7 separate regions of the Homo sapiens genome follow, and all the other regions are linked to region 3. Evidence: promoter capture Hi-C in human tissues and cell types (Jung and others, 2019). All regions are on one chromosome and are shown on one strand. The core of a region is centred on a gene start or on the middle of the fragment in contact, and the rest is flanking DNA. Distances in the headings are between cores, read along the strand shown. Region 1 overlaps PARD3 (par-3 family cell polarity regulator). Region 2 has its middle 150 kb from the start of LINC02629. Region 3 holds the start of NRP1 (neuropilin 1). Region 4 has its middle 160 kb from the start of LINC02629. Region 5 has its middle 88 kb from the start of LINC02629. Region 6 has its middle 130 kb from the start of LINC02629. Region 7 overlaps PARD3 (par-3 family cell polarity regulator).

Region 1 (2,700 bases), core at 78-2,577, 900 kb after region 3:
GGGACATTTGATTAGGACATTATTCTGATATATATTATAACCCCACATTACATTGTTAAAATAATAAAGCTCAAAGTAGTACTTCTCCATGTACGTAGGATTGGGAATTAAGCATGTTGTCTTTTTAAACTTAGCATTTGGATGCAGTATTTTATATGCGTCTCCTGGCTTGGCTTCACACTGGTAAATGGTGTTTCATCAGGCCAAATGATGGGAAGGGTGGTCCATGAATTTAGTTTATGAATACTGACATATTTCAACCCACAAATAGGAATATAACATTGCATCAAAATGGAGCAAAAAGAGAAAAAAGCAGCAGCCAATAGGAAAATCTAGATGAACTAAACAAAGGCACTTAATTTAATAATGAAAACCACTCCAACTTACAATGTACTGTACTCCACCTCTAGCCATTGAATTATTAAAATAAATGCATATTCAGATGTTTCCCAAAGATGCTTTCCTTCTCTTTCAGATTCAAAAGAACGCCACTCTAATCCAATACAATTCTTTTCACTCTGCATTTCAGCAGCTGTCTTTCCTGATTTCTAATCAAAGCTGATGATAACTGGCTTTGGCAACAGACTGTAGTATCCCAAATGAGTAATTAAGGCTATAAATGTGCTCACTTCTTCCTCAAAACCCAGGGTGCATTTCATAGCCTAACAGATTCAGGCTCAACAAGGCTCTCCTGGTTGTTTTAATTTGGTCAGAATTTTTAATACATTAATAAAAGAATAGCTGAGGTTTTGTGTTAGCATTTTTCAATAGCTAGTTCCACTTAAACAATACAAATGTCAGTAGGGCTAACAAACTCCCTTAGTCCCAAACATCTCCCACACATAGGGGTCCCAGACAAAGAAGCTGGTAGCCAACAATCGGTTTTGACTAAGAAAGAGAAATACATGCCCTTAAAAAAAAAGCCTAAGAAAATATTTTGAAAATCACAGGAAATGCTTTTTAAAAAACCATGCAGTGCTGAACACTTTAAAATCTCAGAGAAACAGTGGTGACGGGAATAGACACTCACTTGGAAGATGACTCTAACCTGAAGGAATACGTCTCTCTTCTAACTCACTCCACCTCCTATAAGAAAGATTCTGAGTAACTCATAAAATGGAGGAAAATCCTAATAAATCCACTGTGTCAACCTGATTAAAAATAAGCAGCATTTTTTCCAGCTCTTAATAACTGCACTGTACAGCCATGAATATACATGGTTTTAAATATACATAACTTCAGAATAGAAATTTAACACTGACATATTTTATTTTAAACTTTTTTTTCTTCCTCATGCCACCAGTTTAAGAGCACTGACATATTTTAAAAGGAGAATAGACCTTCATTACAAATACAGATGGGTATTTTAAGAAAATAATCTAAAATAAGAGAAACAGTTCACCATTTCGGAATTTGTTTGCTTACATGCTTGACATGATTTGTTTTAAGTTAAATCGAACATTTTATTTAAGGTCATGTGAATTCTTAAAGAGAACTGGTGAATTACTAAGCTCTGATAGGCCATTTCTTTAATCTAACACCATCCTGAGGCTGGCAGCCCACTGAGTGCTGAGAGGATAAGCAAAAAGAGAATGTGGAGAACAGCTCTAGGCACGGTGGCCGATGGAAGGGTGCTCACTGGCTTCTTTCTGAAACAGCCTGGTGGACATCAGTACCAAAAGCGGAGCCTCCGCCTTGAGCAGAGGGCTCAGGGGAAGAAGTGTCAAGGCAGAGGCAGACACAGACTGAGAGAAGTGGGCTGAAGTCTACTTTCAGATGGAATCCTGGTTCCCCTAAGATCTTTCTGCTAAAACCAAAGTTTTTAAAAATTGGTGTTTGTGGGCCTGGTATGGTGGCTCATGCCTGTAATCTCAGCACTTTGGGAGGCCGAGGCGGGTGGATCACTTGAGGTCAGGAGTTTGAGACCAGCCTGACCAACCTGGTAAAACTTCATCTCTGCTAAAAATACAAAAAAGTAGCCGGGCATGGTGACGTGTGCCTGTGATCCCAGCTACTCAGGAGACTGCGACAAGAGAATCACTTGAACCTAGGAGGTGGAGTTTGCAGTGAGCCAATAACGCGCCATTGCATTCTAGCCTGGGCAATGGAGTGACACTCCATCTCAAAAAAAAAAAAAAAATTGGTGTTTGCCTTAAGTAGAAATACCCTACCATCTTTTGATAATATTATCTGAAAATGAAAAAATATGAGTATTTTTAGAGTTTAAAAATATTTTATTGGCAGGAAATAGGATAGATCATGGACATCTGTCATAGTTCATTTTAAGTTGTTACAAGATAGTAGGAAATTGGATAAACAGAAGCAGCAGCTAACAATCACTGAGCAATCCTATGTGACAGGAACATTCTCAGTGATTTAGCGTATGACCCCCGTCTAATTCCTTTAGGTTGTTTAAGGCACAATTATGATTCCCTTTTACAGACCAAGAAACCGAGGCTTAGAGGTTAAGCAACTTGATCGAGATAAATCCATAAAATGAAAGATCATGCAGCCACTTAAAAAATGTTCTCGTAAGAGAATACAGCGTGGTCTGGAAAGATGTTCGTGACTTATTAGGTAAGAGGGCACATTACTAAAGAGTTATGTAGAGTATGATTTTATTTTCAGTTCTGAGTAAGTACAGATGTGCAAATAACTGTATGTGTCTAAGCATATACTCTAAAATATTAAAAATTATTG
Region 2 (2,700 bases), core at 100-2,599, 720 kb after region 3:
ACTTCATCATGAGCTGTCCAATTTCAAAACAATAGTCATTTTCTCTCCACACCAGTCTGAAAACCAGCCCCATTAAGGATCATGATCAGACCATATTGATCACTTCTCTAAGCATCTCTTCAAGGGACATCTCTAGACATACTTGACTGAGCTGGATTTAATTTAAGCACTTTGCTGTCTACAAATTCTATCAGTTTAGCCTTGTGAAAAATTAGGACATTACGGCTCCAGCTTCCCTAAGGAACTCTGAGCACTGATGTTCTCAATGCCCTGCACCTCCCCTGCTTGGGAACGACCACCCCTCCTTGCCAGGAGAACCCTGAGTTGCTGGCACCTTCTCATCCATGAAGCACACTGTCTTGCTACCCAGATTTCTCTCCTGAAAAGCAATGGCCTACAGAGTGAAAACTAAGGCCATATGCCCAACACTCTTAACACATTCCGTCCAACTCTGAGAAGCAAATTTGCCGTTTACAAGGGGAGAAGAATGAAGCCACTTGAAAGAGCCACATCCCCTTCTCATCTAGTTTTTAAAAAATCATCTTTGCACAAAGAAATGACAAGTGCTTGAGGTGATAGATACCCCAATTACTCTGATGCATTATGCACTCTATGCCTGTCTCAAAACATCACATGTACTCCATAGATATATCCATCTACTATGTACCCATAAAAACTAAAAATTTTTAAAAAATCATCTTTGTTGCCTCCAGAGAGGGTCATTCTGGCCACGCCTGCTGGTCTGATTCTGTGAGTCATTGACAGTGGGGCAGAGTGGGAACTAGGGATATGCAGAGGAGATAGATTTTCAGCCCCTTTACTTTCTTGAAACTATTTCCTCTCGTCGTGTGAATGGAATTTTTAAAATGATATCTAAAGCACAGTAGGAAAATAATGTAAATCAAGTGCTAGGAAATTCTTCCCTCCAGGCACCATTCAAAAACCAAACTCATTTGAGAGAAGTTCCAGGGGTTCGGAACAGTTGAGAGGGGGCTTGCTTTAGCCTTGCTGGATGACATCAAGGCAAAAGATGAGAGTGTGTGAGGGATCAGCGCGGAGGTCCTGAGCTCAGAGCAGGAGTTGTGAGTCAGCCTTGGAGACGCCCACTGCAAACAAGCATTCAGGCTTGTCGAGATGATTTCTGGAGGTTAAGTGTAGGTGGATCTCGTGTTTCAGATGCTTTCAGCGTATTTTGTCATCTCATTTGTTCCATTAAGGTTTGTTTAAAAGAAAAAAATCCAGGAAACTAACGTCAACAACTAAGAGAATTTTGTAAATATCATTCCTCCCACTTCAAGCGACATTGCCTACATCAATGCTAACCCATACGTTAGTAATGCTTTTGAAAGGAATTATGTGAAGACAACAGTCTAAAGTTCCTATTATTGCAGAAAGCTTTTACCAAATATCTGCTTTTATTTTACACTTCTGAATACAAGGAACCAGGACCATGCTTTTAAGTATAAGCCTTATTCTGAAATGGATGAGTAATGTTGCCAAGAAACCAAGAAGCCGGTGGGCAGCAAAGCAGAAACGTGATGTGGAATAATGACTTCGGTGCAGTTCCTCACACTTATATAACATATGTCTCTGCATCTATGGGGGGCAAGCGTGTATGCTTAAATAGCCCACCCAAAAGGGGTAGAAACAATAAGAGCAGAGCGTTCCTCTAAGGAGGGTATGGTTGTAGTGAGACATCAAGAAACAGTCAGAGGCTGGGCATGGTGGCTCACGCCTATAATTCCAGCACTTTGGTAGGCCAAGGCAGGTAGATTATGAGGTCAGGAGTTCAAGACCAGCCTGGCCAACATGGTGAAACCCTGTCTCTACTAAAAATACAAAAAAAAAAAAAAAAAAAATAGCTGGACGTGGTGGCAGGCGCCTGTAATCCCAACTACTCGTGTGGCTGAAGCAGGAGAATTGCTTGAACCCAGGAGGCAGAGGTTGCAGTGAGCCGAGATCTCCCCATTGCACTCCAGCCTGGGTGATAAGAGCAAAACTCCATCTCAAAAAAAAAAAAAGAAAGAAAGAAAGAAAGAAACAGCCAGATATAATGAAGAGGCTGAGTGAGATGGTAGTCTTTTAGGTAACACTTGGAATGAAAAGGAGCTATGGTTTTTGTGTGTTTCTCACTTAAAACCAGAGTGTTATTATCCTTTACCATTGCATCAGCAGGAAGCATTGAAGGTTGTGAAAGTTCTTTTGGTTGGTTGGTTTGTTGGTTGTTGGTTGATTAGTTGGCTGGTTGGTTGGTTGATTGGTTGGTTGGTTTGTTGGTTGGTTGATTGCTTGGTTGGTTTGTTGGTTGGTTGATTGCTTGGTTGGTTGGTTGGTTGTTGGATTTGGGATACAGAAGCAAAGAAAAGGGAGGAGAAAAAGAGCACTCAAAATGCAGTTGGTGAACAGTGTGCAGCTAGGAAGGAAACCTCTGCTCCTGGTGCTCCACTCAGAGAAAATAGAGGGTGCTATTTCACTAGAACCACAGCAAAAGCATCACAGTGTAGTACGGAAGCTTCTGTCTCATCCTAAGGATGGGGTTGAAGCCAGCTCAAGTTTGGGACTGATTCAAACTAACTGAGATAATCTTTCCAACTAAGAAAAGACTTGTAATCCAAATTATAAAATGTGGTGTGGCCCTTCCTCTTCCTTCCCTTCCCTGAACTATGTAGTCTTAGAGCTATCAGGTGGGGTAGAGCAAGA
Region 3 (2,716 bases), core at 94-2,593:
TTGAAAAAGCATATTAGAGAGATTAACTTCCATCATAAAGATGTGATTTAAATTCCTGTTGGTATGAGGCCCTCCACTTGCGGTCTCTTATTAAAACAATATACCACAGTAAGTAGTGGATGTTCTTTTCTTCTAATTACTGTGATTGAAATCTAAGCCAGACAAAAGTAAATATTTGATCATTAGTTAATAACAATTGCTGACGACTTACTGTAAAGATAATTGCATACCCTTGCCTGCACTTACTTTACAGTGTGAAGTCAAACATGCCTACAACCAGATCCCATTTTAAAACACATTATTTAGGTTACATGGTACTGTTTAGACCCCAGTATAGTTTTTCATTTACTTAACAGTGAGTGATTTTAAAAGCTAAGTGGAAGCTGCAACTAGCTTAGGGATTTTCAGATATCCTGGTGCCTTACACTGTATATGTCAGATTCCTGTATTGATACTATGTAACTTTCAGTCATACTCCAGACAGATTACGGAAGGTGTACAAAGGCGGGGGAGGGAGTTTCATCAACCCACAAACCGATATCTCTGGCCGTCACCCACCAGAGGAAACGGCTTAGGGGAGCAGCAAAGGAACCAGGAAGTAAGATCTCCTGGTAAAGTGTTCATTAACTTTCAACAGCCATCAGATTTTTGAAAGGGAGTCTCTTCTAATTGCCTTTGGGAGGAAACATTATTAAGATAATTGGCATGCTGATCTGGGAAGGTAGACAGCTCTGTCTTGTAACAGAGGTAAGGAAAAGCCCCACAGCCCAAGGATCAACGTCAGGAGGGAGCCCAAAGACCTGAAATCCTCCTGCTCTAAACCGCCTGATCTCATTTCTTCTTCTCTCCTCCCAGATAAAAGTTTCCTTCGCCCGGGAGTCGGTTGTTCCCGGCTGATCCCGGGAAGCCCCGCCTGAGCCCCGGTCCGGGGCGGGCAGCTGGGAGCCGGGGCGCCGCTGTCACCCGCGCCTCTGCCTGTCACTTACCGTTGCGAAAAGCGCCGGCCGGGGCGAGGACGAGGGCGAGCACGGCGCAGAGGAGCGGCAGCCCCCTCTCCATTCTCCCTTCTCCGGGTCCGCAGGCAGACGCGGGAGAACGAGGACGTGGGGGGAAATGCAGCAAAGAGGAGAATCTAAGCGATCCGAAGAGCCCCAACTCCGCCTAGAGCTGTACAATCCTCAGCCCGTCTTGGAGAAAAGAAAGCAGCGAGGCAATGCCTGGATCCGAGAGGAACGCTTCTCTTTTTGTGTCTCAAGTCGCCTGCATCCTGTCATTTAGCTCCGGCTTCCTCTCCCTTTTCCCACACTTGTTCCTCTTCCAGGAGCCACTGCCCGGGCCATGTCTCAAAAAAAAAAAAAAAAAAAAAAAAGGCCGGGGGGGGGCTGTGGGTGGGAGGGGGAGGAGGGAGGTAGGGCAACACACACCAAAGCCAATTTCCAGGAAGAAAAAAAAAAAATCCGGCTTGTTTCTGGACCCGTTGGAGCCGCGGAGCTGGCGCCCAGGGGAGGTCCGGGTGTCTGCGGGAAGGAGGGGAACGAGCAATGAAAAGATGAGCGGGAGACAGAGGAGTTTCACCAACTGCACCCCCGCCTCCCCTCCTGCGGCCTCCCCCCACTCCGGAGCCCTTCCCTCGCTTCCTCCCGCCCCTCTCCCCGCTTGGGCTCGCCTGTAATTGCCTGACAGGAGACTGGGAGGAACAACTTTCCCTCCGAGTGCTCTCCCCGTCCGTCTGTCTGTCTTTCCCAGAGACCCTGCAGGGATCTCCGCGGGAAGGAAGGCGCTGGGAGTCTGCGCCCCGGTCGCGTGGGTGCGGGCGTCGGAGGAAGGGGCGCGGAGGTCAGTGCCAGCCGCAGGGTCTGGCCAGCCCACCTCGCGTGCTCGCTCTGCACCCCTAGAGGGAGAGCTGGGCAGCTCCTGCAGGCGCAGATCCCGCCGCCGCGCAGTGCGGAGCGCCCGGGAGGTGGCGGCTGCTTCTCGCAACTTCAAATCCCGGGGCCCGCGCCCTCGGCGGCGAGGAACGCAGGGTCACCCCCTGCCACTCCTCATCGCGCCATCCTGAGACCTGTGGCGGGGAGCAGCGGGGCACCCCTGGACGCCCCTGCCCAGAGCTGGAGGGCGAGGAGGGGAAAGCCGGGCTGGAGTGGGAGCCGCACCGCGAAGCCGGGCGAGGGGCAGCAGTGTCGCTGTGGTGTGAAGCGAAGACAGACCGCCTGGGCGGGCGAGGCCGGGCTGCAGCCCCACGCGGCCTCCCTGGCCCGCATCAGGGCGCGCGGCTGGGTGCCCTCTGCGCGCCGCGGAGGCTTCATTGTTTCCCGAGATTTGGTGCCCGTTCCTCTGGGGCAGAGGGAACACCGGAGGGTGGGAGGTGCTGCGCCTTCCAAGCAGGGGGGCAATCGCCGCCCGACCCCGCCCAACCTTGTCTGGGAGCCCAGGTGCTAGGGAGGGGTGTGGAAATCAGGGGTCGGGCGGCCCCCGTTTCTCTGTGCATCCCGAGGGAGGGAAAGAGTGGCGGGGGAGGGGTGCTCTTCGCTGCGCCCTCTCAGTGTCCGCTCCCGGCCACAGACAACGTGCACGCCGGCCCTGGAGCTCCTGCCACCCCCACTTCCCACAGCGGCTCGTGCCCCCAGCCCGCTGGATGCCCCCCAGGCCCGTCCCCGAGGGTTTTCCGAGAAGTGCTGCAGGAAGCGTTTGTAGATGCGAAAAGCAAGGACATTTC
Region 4 (2,838 bases), core at 85-2,584, 730 kb after region 3:
TCCTCAAAGTTTTTTATTATTTAGGGTTTGTTTAAACTTTTTTGTTTCTTTCTTTTTTCTAGACAGGGTCATCTTGCTCTGTCACCTTGGCAGGAAGGCAGTGGCATGATCATAGCTCACTGCAGCTTCTAACTCTGGGTCTCAAGCAATCCTCCCACCACAACCTCCCAAGTAGCTGGAACTACAGGTACACACCATCACATTTGGCTAATTTTTAAAAAAAAATTTTTGTAGAGACAGCATCTTGCTATTGTTGCCAAGTCTGGTCTCAAATTCCTGGGCTCAGTTGTTCCTTCCACTTTGACCTTCCAAAATGTGGAACAACAGGCATGAACCACCCTACTCAGCCCACTTCCTCATCTGATTGCCAGGAGAGCATCTGATTGATTGCCAGTCCTGGATCTTCTACCTGCACCCCATTATCCAGGAAGTAGGGAGAGGGAGTAAGTGGCCCCTAAAACATTGTTAGTCACAGGTGAGGTACCTCCTCCACCCAAGCCTCACATGATCAGAAAGTTGAGACTCTAGACAGCCAGAAACACATCATTCACAACAGATAGTTTAAAAAGTTGGTGGATGCGTCCAAGATGGCCGAATAGGAACAGCTTTGGTCTACAGCTCCCAATGAGATCAATGCAGAAGATGGGTGATTTCTGCATTTCCAACTGAGGTACCTGGTTCTTCTCATTGGGACTGGTTGGACAGTGGGCACAGCCTATGGAGGGTGAGCAGGGTGGGGCATCACCTCAACTGGGAAGTGCAAGAAGTTGGGGGATTTCCCTTTCCTAGGCAAAGGAAGCCCTGAGTGACTGTACCTGGAGGAGCAGTACACTCCTGCCCAAATACTGTGCTTATCCCATGGTCTTCGCAACCAGCAGACCAGGAGATTCCCTCCCATATCTGGCTTGGCAGGTCCCATGTCCATGGAGCCGTGGTCACTGCTAACACAACAGTCTGAGATCAACCTGGGACATGGGAGCTTGGTGAGGGGAGGGGCGTCTGCCATTGCTGAGGCTTGAGTAGGTGGTTTTATGCTCACAGTGTAAACAAAGCTGCAGGGAAGCTTGAACTGGGCGGAGCCCACTGCAGCTCAGCAAGGCCTACTGCCTCTATAGACTCCACCTCTGGGGACAGGGCATATCTGAACAAAAAGCAGCAGACAGCTTCTCTAGACTTAAACGTCCCTGCCTGACAGCCCTTAAGAGAGCAGTGGTTCTCCCAGCACAGCGTTTGAGCTCCGATAATGGACAAACTGCTTCCTCAGGTGGGTCCCTGACCCCCATGTTGCCTGACTGGGAGACACCTCCCAGGAGGGGCCAACAGACACCTCATACAGGCAGGTGCCCCTCTGGGATGAAGCTTCCAGAGGAAGGATCAGGCAGCAATATTTGCTGTTCTGCAGCCTCCACTGGTGATACCCAGCCAAACAGGGTCTGGACTGGACTCCCAGCAAACTCCAACAGACCTGCAGCTGAGGGGTCTGTCTGTTAGAAGGAAAACTAACAAACAGAAAGGAAGAGCATCAACATCAACAAAAAGGACATCCACACCAAAACCCCATCTGCAGGTCACCAACATCAAAGACCAAAGTTAGATAAAACCACAAAGATGGGGAGAAACCAGAGCAGAAAGGCTAAAAATTCCAAAAACCAGAATGCCTCTTCTCCTCCAAAGGAACCCAACTCCTTGCCAGCAAGGGAACAAAACTGGACATAGAATAAGCTTGATGAGTTGACAGAAGTATGCTTCAGAAGGTCAGTAATAACAAACTTCTCCGAGCTAAAGAAGCATGTTCTAACCCATTGCAAGGAAGCTAAAAACCTTGAAAAAAGGTTAGACGGATGGCTAACTAGAATAACCAGTGTAGAGAAGAGCTTAAATAACATGATGGAGCTGAAAACCACAATACGAGAACTTCGTGAAGCATACACAAGCTTCAATAGCCGATTTGATCAAGCAGAAGAAAGGATATCAGTGATTGAAGATCAAATTAATGAAATAAAGTGAGAAGACAAGATTAAAGAAAAAAGAGTGAAAAGAAAAAAACAAAGCCTCTAAGAAATATGGGACTATGTGAAAAGACCAAATCTATGTTTGATTGGTGTACCTGAAAGTGACGGGGAGAATGGAAGCAAGTTGGAAAACACTCTTCAGGATATTATCCAGGAGAACTTCCCCAACCTAGCAAAGCAGGCCAACATTCAAATTCAGGAAATACAGAGAACATCACAAAGATACTCCTCAAGAAGAACAACCCCAAGACACATAATTGTCAGATTCACCAAGGTTGAAATGCAGGAAAAAATGTTAAGGGCAGCCGGAGAGAAAGGTCAGGTTACCCACAAAGGGAAGCCCATCAGACTAACAGCAGATGTCTTGGCAGAAACCCTACAAGCCAGAGAGTGGGGGCCAATATTCAACATTCTTAAAGGAAAGAATTTTCAACCCAGAATTTCATATCCAGCCAAACTAAGCTTCATAAGTGAAGGAGAAATAAAATCCTTTACAGACAAGCAAATGCTGAGAGATTTTGTCACCACCAGGCCTGCCTTACAAGAGCTCCTGAAGGAAGCACTAAACATGGAAAGGAACAACCAGTACCAACCACTGCAAAAACATGCCAAATTGTAAAGACCATTGATGCTATGAAGAAACTGCATCAATTAACAGGCAAAATAACCAGCTAGTATCATAATGACAGGATCAAATTCACATATAACAATATTAACCTTAAATGTAAATAGGCTAAATTCTCCAATTAAAAGACACAGACTGGGAAATGGGTAAAGAATCAAGACCCATCAGTGTGCTGTATTCAGGAGACCCATCTCACATTCA
Region 5 (2,821 bases), core at 51-2,550, 660 kb after region 3:
CCATTTTATCTACTTCCATGGCGTATATGAGGATAATTACTAAATATATGTCTCAACCTCAAACCCAAGCTTCTGACCATAGGGTATATCCATGAGTGTTCCAAAGCCTTCTCATCCACAACATGTCAAACAGCTTTATCCTTACATCTATACATCTATCTACGTCTATCCTTTTATCCATCTATTCATCTATCTATTCGTCCATCCGTCCATCTATCCATCCATCTATCCAATCTATGTATCCATCCATCTATCCATCTGTCTATTCATGCATCTATCAATCTATCCATCCATTTATCTATTCAATTATCTATGCTTCTATCCATCTGTCCTTTTCTCCATCTATCTATTCATCCATCTAACTATCCATCCATTTATCTGTCCATCCATCCATCCATCCATCCATTCATCTGTCTATCTATACATCCATCTATCTATGAAAGGGGCCAAAAAATCCCAGGTGCTCTTCTTTTGGTCTTGGAGGGAAGTTCAAACCATAGGCAAACAACCCTTTCTCTTGCCCAACTCACTAACCACCATAAAAACTCCAAGCCACTTTTCTTTGCTGTTCTCTCAAGCCAATTTTAGACTTGCTTGGGAGCCACTCTACTCTCCCCTAGAAAGCCTCATTATGTGAGTAAAAAAACGTTCTCATACCTTCTTAGTGTGTGTGTGGCATCATCGGTCTCAACATCCAAGTCAAATTTTGGCTAAGATTCATCCTGGTTCTGTAGGGTGATTACAACATGTACCTTATTAATGGTCTATGCCTTACTGCAAATGTCAAACTACTCTGCCCAGCCTAGTTGCCTCATTAAATCCATTCACCAATTTTCATGAAGTTTAGATTCATTTATTTTACTCTGAAGAATAATATTCCACAATAAAGAAGAATATTCCCCTTTTTTCTTATTCTTTCAAATAAATTTTTGACCTAGGTTTCAAAATCTTCCATGACCAAAATCTCAACCAAAATTTCTATACTTGTTTTCTATTCTCGTTCATGTACCCTAAAATTTCACTAATTTGTTGCCATCCACCTACCCTCAGCAGGCCTTGCATTTTCTTCTCTCTCTCTATTTTTTTAAGGAGGGCGGCTGTTGCCAGGGCAACCAGCTGGGCTGGGATTTTGTTGAGAATTCCGCCCTGCATTTTCTACACTTTGCACTTTTGTTCACAGTCTATTGCCTGAGATTGAATTGTCCTTGCCCCATTGCTTGCTGTCCAAATCACACCTGAATGGATCAGCTAGGATTTGTGGTGGGAAGAGACATAAAATTCATCCCAGATTAGAAAAATAATAAAAGATAACTTATTGACTCATATCATTTAAAAAGCCAAGAGTAGTTCAGGCTCCAGTTGAGGTCTGATACAGGGGCTCATATAATGTCCTCAGGATCTAGTTTCTCTCTTCAACTTGAAGTTCTGCAAGATTTCCATTCACCTCTCTTCACAGTCCCAAAGCCAGTGGAGAGGTAGAGGTTCTTTTTCCATGATTCCTGAAAAACTCCTGTATTAACTCGAGTCATCCTAGGTGGTATGTTACCCTGAAGCCAATCATAGCTAAGAGGGTGCAAAGCAATGAATGGCTTGGGCTCCAAAGGAAAATGGAGTAATTTTAATGTGTATATTACTAACAAAGGAGTTTTGCTGAAGGTTTTCAAATAACAGCGGCTACAAATATACTCTTAAACATTTTCCAGGTTAGCTGGGCATGCTGGCATGTGCCTGTAGTCCCAGCTGCTCAAGAGGCTGAGATAGGAGGATCACTTGATCCAAGGAGTTCAAGGCCAGCCTGGGCAACATAGTGAGACTTCATTTCAAAAAAAAAAAAAAAAAATCCTCCAAGTCATCTTCTGGTCTTAGAGCAAAAAGCAACAGAGTGTTAAAGAGAAGTTACCTGTGTAATGCTCTTGTAGAAAAAATTTCTTCCTGGGATCAAAGTCTCTCCCATACTCCAGGACTACTCGCAAGCCGAGGAAAGAAGTTCCAAAGGCAGGGCTGCAGGAAAAGACTCAGGGATCACCTAGGAGCTGAGGCTACATGTGCTGGCTCCCAAATTTGCTATTGCTTCTTTTTCAATCAACAGACAATGTGTCCCAAATGGGTAGGACAATGGGAATTACAACGGAGGACATGCCAAGGGTGTGGAAGAGAGAAGGCCGAGGAAACAAGCTTGCATAACTAAAGTTGTCTTCTTGAGTTATTATTATAACTAAAGGTGTAAAACATGCCAAATTAAATTGCAAAATCTCTAAAATTTCTGGGAAATAATTGGCCTAGCTCCCCAAAATCCAATGCCAGTGAATTTTAATTTTTTGCTTTAAAATAAACATCATTACTCGAATTGGGAGGTCATTATGTTAAGTGAAATATGCCCAGCACAGAAAAACAAATATCATGTGTTCTCACTTACATATGGGGGCTACAAAAGTTGATCTCATGGAGGTAGAGAGTAGAATGATAAATACCAGAGGTTGGGAAGGATGGGAGGTGGGGGGATAAAGAGAGGTTGATTAATGGGTACAAACAAAAATTTAGGAGGAATAAGTTTTGTTTGTTTGTTTTTTGTTTTTGTTTTTGTTTTGAGACAGAGTCTCACTCTGTCGCCCAGGGTAAAGTGCAGTGGCACGATCTCAGCTCAGTGCAGCCTCTGCATCTCAGGTTCAAGTGATTCTCCTGCCTCAGCCTCCCCAGTAGCTGGGATTACAGGAGTGTGCCACCACGCCTGGCTAATTTTTGTATTTTTAGTAGAGATAAGGTTTCACCACGTTGGCCAGGCTGGTCTCAAACTCCTGATCCCAGGTGATCCACTAACCTC
Region 6 (2,700 bases), core at 168-2,667, 700 kb after region 3:
AACACCCTGTAGGGCTCACTGGTGCCAGAACCCGTCTGCATCTAGCCCTGCTGTGGCGTCTACAAGAGACACAGATGATTGAACTTAAAGTTTGAGTGCATGATGGAAGGGTCAGAAATGTTATCAGAATAGTTCACAGTGATTTTTCTCCCATTATCTTTCCTATTTCATCAGTGGCTGTAAGGACAAGCAAGTGTCCCTGGAGAGGTTCAGACCCATCAGGTGTGTGTCCTGAGCTGCAGGATTCCCCCATGGATGTTTACTCTCTTCTTACATCTCCATCTGCCCGGCTTTGCTCCCAGCACAGGGAATGTTCCTATAGGACTGTACCCTACAACCAGGCCTTGGCAATCTGGCCTAGAGGGCAGGTATGGCTGGAGGGCAGACAGGAGATTAGTGTGGCTGTGCAAGTGGGGTCTCCCTTGGGCTCTGCTCCCCTTAAGCCCAGGCCTGCATTGCAGAATATTCCACAGGCCAAGCAAGTGATAGACCAGAGAAGGAAGGGCCATTTATTTCAGTACTTAACTTTCTTCACTGGAGCAGTCGATTAATTGCTGGTGCATATTAGCCTTTTTCTCTGCGTTGTGTTACACAGACTCTTTAAGGATAAGGTGCTCATCCGAGTCATGGTGACTTTTGCACAGTGCAGAGCAGGGTGCCAGGGATATATTGGGATTTAGAGTTTGAGGGTGGATGCATGGGCTTTGAGTCTCTGTTTTTGAGCCTTGTTCCCCATCCTAACCATCCTCTATCTATGAAAATGTGACTTCCATCTGTGGCAAAGGATCATGAAAGTTTGCCAAAATTTTCCCTGCTGCAGAGCTTCTCTCTGGCCAAATATGACTCAATCAGGTCTTAAGCAAAAGGCCTGGAACGTCTGTCACTTCCAGAGGCCTCATGCCAAGCACAGGATGTGAAAGCTCACTTCTTCCTTCTACTGCCCACTTACACTGCACAAGAGAAATCTCGCCTCCACTCTCCGTTGACCTTCCTCTCAGAAGCACAAAGGCATTAGCTCACTTTGGGCTCAACATTGCCAGCAGTCACAGATTTCTGCACCATGGTGTCTCCTCTCTTTCCCTGGAGGGAATCCCAAACTTGCTCTCACCTTGGAATATTTTTGGGGCCCTGTGAACTGGATAGGAATGGCAAAAGGACTCAAAGTAGCTGGGCTTCCTGCATTTCCTTCTGAACCTCCTTGCTACCTCTAACTTACACTGGAACAGTAGACATAGAGCCAGGGCAGTGTCTAGCACATAGTAGATGCATAAATGGTTGTTGAAAGTTTTGGTGCAAAGACATAAACTGTCATGGATTTTCAAGCACTCATGAAAGACTGTTAGACAGCCTTTCCTGCAGGATACCTCCTGGAATCCTGTTAATTGGATTCTTCTTGAAGCATGGATAACAACACAATAAGTATCTTATACCTAAGATATATCCATATAGACAAACAACCATTAAAGAATTACTTTCTTATCATTTCCATTAAATTCAACTAATGTCAATTATATGACTTCTCTACACAAACCTCTATGCCAGCTGCAAGACCAGAATGAGAAGGACATTTCATTCTCATTCAGGAATGAATGTGTTTTCAGGAAGCACAACTCTATTGCAAGGATGAGTTTACCAGGCCAATGGCTTCCTGCTTAGTTAACAGGTTCTCAATGCATCTTCATCATGATGAAGATGATGAAGATGGCTATCTCCAAAGTATGGAACCAGCATCAGTACTGATGTGAGGCTGGCTCTATGTTTTGAGTTTCTATGTAACAAACTGTAACCTAACTTAGTAAGTAAACAAACAAAAACCTAGTTTAGGAATATCTTTCTGTTACAAACAGCCAAGCTTCAGCCAATCATAGACAGCCAACTGATCACCTCATGCCCAAACAAGGTAAATGCCTAGCTGTAGCCAATTAGATGATTTCTCTACTTCGCTTCTCTGTTCATCCTATAAAAGCTTGCTGGTCATGCTGCTGAGTGGACCTCTCTTCTGGTTCTGAATGCCGCCTGATTCATGAATTGTTCTTCGCTCTGTTAAATTTAATTGTCTATGCTCATGCCCATAATCACAGTGCTTTGGGAGGTTGAGGCAGGAGGATGACTTGAGGCCAGAAGTTCAAAACCAGCCTGGGCAACATACCAAGATTCTGTCTCTACAAAATAAATAAATACATAAAAATAAAGACATTTAATTGTCTAATTGTTTTTTAACAGACCTAAGTCTTATAACACCCACGAGCATGATTGTTCCCGGAAGTGGGGTTGGTGGAGGGAGGCAGGGTCAAGGTTAATTTAGGAAGTGATGTTACCCTGGGCTTTGAGTGGGAGCTAGGGTTTTCCTAGATACCAGGTATGTATGGTGGGGGTGGGGGGTTGCAGGAAGCAGGGTTAAGTGAGAGTGCAGAAGAACAGACTTTCCTGGCAGGGGAGATCCTGAGCATAGCCACAGAAGAGTGAAGACACGTGAGTTCTTTAGGGGCAGTGACTAACCTCACGTGCCTGCCTTCAGTGAGAGGTGTGTAGGGGATGAGGAGTGGCCACAGGGGCTGGAATGACGCAATGGGCCTCTTAGAAATGGCATTACTCACCATGCTTGGGAGGCGTCCTACAAGCAGGTAGGGTTCCCCCACCCAACAATTTTATTTTATTTTGTTTGTTTGTTTGTTTTTGTTTTTGTTTTTTGAAATAAGG
Region 7 (2,772 bases), core at 137-2,636, 990 kb after region 3:
GGCATGTAATTTGCATAGAAGAGGGAGCAGATTGTCAATGCCCTGACCTGTCAAACACAGGTAGGGCCTCGGAGATAATGGGTCCCAGAATACAAAGCTCCATCTTGATCCAGACAGACGCACACAACATGGAGAGGCCAGATGGATTAAATGAGACACAAAAATGCTGGCTTCTGCCATCTCCACAGGAAGAATGTAAGTGCTGCAGAAGATGACAGATACCAGATACCACATGGATCCCACCCCAGTCTCTTGGCCCCATTGCTGTGCCCATGCCATGATTTCCACACTGCTGAGAAGAGGCCAGCCTGTTCAGTGCCATGAATATAGTCACTGGGGAGGGGCTCGACCCAACTGACAAAAGCAATCAACCATGCCTACGCCTATGTGTCTTACTTGTAAAGAGGAAAAGTGCCACATGATGATAGAAATCAGAGCCTGCAGCACGGTGCAAGGAGCTCTCTGTTCCTGCTGACCTCCATAACTAGCTTTTCCACAATGGCTCAGTCTCTAGCCACGCATTTCCAGGGTGCACTGCATCCTCAGGAAATGTCCCATGTGACAAAAAGACCATCTGCCTAGACGAGGGTCCTCTTTTCAGATCCAGGTTCAAGGGGGATGTGGCTTTTTAATTTCTACGGGCAGCTGTAACTGAGTTGGACCATCGGGACAAGAAAGAACCCACTTCCCCTGAGGCCCACTTAGCACAGACAATAGAAGATGTTGGACATGCAGCCAGGGGACACATAGCTAAGGGACAAGCCCAGAAGGGCAAAAATGCAGGAGCATAGCCACAGAGACAGCAAGTCCAGAGACTCCGCTGTGCAGGTCCACAAGCCAGACGCTGAAAATGGTGTGGTTAGGAAGCCGAAGGAGGGCTAACTGAGCCAGCCTTCTTTCCAAAGCTGGAGGCAGAAAGTGCCTTCGCGTCTTCAGTTTTATGTAAGCTGACAGCCACCAGCAGTAACACCACATTTGATAGACAATTTTTTTTTAAACAAAAACAAAGAGTTTGCTGAAGTATTGAAGATCTAGTGCATACAAGGTCCAGTGTGGGATACCTCACTCACCCACTCATCGATTTGGCAGACATTTATTTAATTCTATGATTTGCCAAGCTTTGTGTTTGGTAATGCAAGATGGAAATAGATGGGGTGTTTTCCACATGGGCCTCGCAAAAGGTGAGGGGGTTAGCGTGCCAGAAGTAGGGCAGTGAGGGGGTACATAGAATCATGGAATGTTAAACTAGGAAGGACTTCGGAAACCATCTAAACCATCTAAGCCAGAACTTTTACAACTTTTTCCTAAATACTCAAAAACACCCTTTTTAAAAACTAAAATTTACAAAGGATCCCCATGTACAGAAGTGAGTAAAACAACTGTGAAGGTGGTGGTGGGGGGAAGGTGACACTGGTGGCCTTTCCCACTCTCCAAACCCATTGAGGTACTGCTCCTGACCAGAGATCACAACACACCAGTTGAAAGTCAATTATCTAGTCCAAATCTTCAGTTTTACAAATGAAGAAATTAAAGCTCAAGCAGTTGAAGTTTTGACTAAAATCCCAAATTACTTAGAAGAATGTAGAGGAGGATGCAAGTCACCTGAATTCCACTTCTGTGTTCATTCCACCCTATAAACACGATTTCAACAACCAAAATTGGAAAAGTTTGGAATTTACAATAGTTGCCATTCATTTGCCATATGCAAAGTTCAGAAGACTGGTATGCAAAAAATAATAAAAACAGGACTTTTGAAAAATACAACATTTGGTGGTTGTAGGTGCAGCGTGTTTTAGGGCACCTGCCACACGTGTATTTCCCAGGTCTTGTCCAGAACTTTATCTTTGGTTTGCAAATTGTAATTTGCCTATCCATGTGTTTCATTTCACTTTTTTTCTCTGAAGGACAGATACATGAATGAACTTTAATATACTGTTATTTCTCATTTTGTTTTTTAAAAAATAAGTTTATATAGGGACAAAATCAGATGTCCATGTTGGTGGGACACTCTGGAGGCTATCCCTACAGAATTAAAAATATACCTTATATTCATATGTATTCTATCTCCTGTTACATTTGAAATGAGTGAAATATTATAAGAGCAAACTGCATTTTTTAAGGAAAATTAAATAACATTTTAACCAGAACAAGAAAAAAGTTCAAAAGCATCATTATAGATACTTAAAAAATATATATCAAGGGGCCAAAGCATAGTAATTTTTGATTAAATATACACCCAAGACAGAGAGAAGCAAGCTCTATAATTGTCAAGTAATATTGATTAGGATGGCAAGGAACCATTATTACAAAGAGAAAAAACTCAATAGGGTCGAAAGCTTATATGACTCAGGATCTTGGAGACCAGGTTTGGCAGCAAAAATAGTAAATATGCTCCTCATCCTGCAAGAATGGGCTGCATATATTCACAGCCGGGAGGAAGAGGTGGGCCTGGAGAGGACACCAGGAGGCTGCAACTGGGTCTGGAGAGGCTGACCTAAGGAAGTTCTGGGCCTGGAGAGGCCGCCAAAAGGGAAAAACTGGGCCTGGAAAGGCCCAGTTGTGAGGAATCTGATCATAGTGACAAAACTGCCTGGATTTAGATGGAGAATCAGGTGGAGGTGGAGAGAAGTGTAGCAATCCTCTAAGTTATGCTTCGCATATTACATTATGACAGAAATATTCATCTTCCCAAACGCATTATATGTATAAGCATTATACGTATAAGCAATGTATATTAACGTATATATACATATACATTATATGTATATGTAT

Evidence for each region. Contacts are between HindIII fragments. The study calls those that stand out against the background at their distance.
Region 1: a contact is called between a fragment that was not itself captured here and the fragment with the promoter of NRP1 in region 3, in 2 of the 25 tissues and cell types used here (aorta and heart left ventricle).
Region 2: a fragment that was not itself captured here is called in contact with the fragment with the promoter of NRP1 in region 3 in 2 of the 25 tissues and cell types used here (IMR-90 fibroblasts and hippocampus).
Region 4: a fragment that was not itself captured here is called in contact with the fragment with the promoter of NRP1 in region 3 in 2 of the 25 tissues and cell types used here (H1 embryonic stem cells and heart left ventricle).
Region 5: a fragment that was not itself captured here is called in contact with the fragment with the promoter of NRP1 in region 3 in 1 of the 25 tissues and cell types used here (lymphoblastoid cells).
Region 6: a fragment that was not itself captured here is called in contact with the fragment with the promoter of NRP1 in region 3 in 1 of the 25 tissues and cell types used here (H1 embryonic stem cells).
Region 7: a fragment that was not itself captured here is called in contact with the fragment with the promoter of NRP1 in region 3 in 1 of the 25 tissues and cell types used here (dorsolateral prefrontal cortex).

Annotation. Positions count from the first base shown.
Region 1 is chr10:34,237,679-34,240,378 of GRCh38, forward strand. All of the region lies in intron 22 of PARD3 (par-3 family cell polarity regulator), which reads right to left. Among named protein-coding and RNA genes, the nearest start is that of LINC02629, 330 kb to the left of the region's middle. The HindIII fragment of the contact is 6,470 bases long and covers 1-2,700 here.
Region 2 is chr10:34,048,904-34,051,603 of GRCh38, forward strand. No RefSeq gene overlaps it. Among named protein-coding and RNA genes, the nearest start is that of LINC02629, 150 kb to the left of the region's middle. The HindIII fragment of the contact is 7,207 bases long and covers 1-2,700 here.
Region 3 is chr10:33,333,324-33,336,039 of GRCh38, forward strand. NRP1 (neuropilin 1) reads right to left here and starts at 1,344. Exons shown (of 17, transcript NM_003873.7): 1 at 987-1,344. The coding sequence starts at 1,059. The HindIII fragment of the contact is 10,676 bases long and covers 1-2,716 here.
Region 4 is chr10:34,066,910-34,069,747 of GRCh38, forward strand. No RefSeq gene overlaps it. Among named protein-coding and RNA genes, the nearest start is that of LINC02629, 160 kb to the left of the region's middle. The HindIII fragment of the contact is 4,166 bases long and covers 1-2,838 here.
Region 5 is chr10:33,991,004-33,993,824 of GRCh38, forward strand. No RefSeq gene overlaps it. Among named protein-coding and RNA genes, the nearest start is that of LINC02629, 88 kb to the left of the region's middle. The HindIII fragment of the contact is 3,217 bases long and covers 1-2,821 here.
Region 6 is chr10:34,030,746-34,033,445 of GRCh38, forward strand. No RefSeq gene overlaps it. Among named protein-coding and RNA genes, the nearest start is that of LINC02629, 130 kb to the left of the region's middle. The HindIII fragment of the contact is 4,838 bases long and covers 1-2,700 here.
Region 7 is chr10:34,327,167-34,329,938 of GRCh38, forward strand. All of the region lies in intron 19 of PARD3 (par-3 family cell polarity regulator), which reads right to left. Among named protein-coding and RNA genes, the nearest start is that of LINC02629, 420 kb to the left of the region's middle. The HindIII fragment of the contact is 4,130 bases long and covers 1-2,772 here.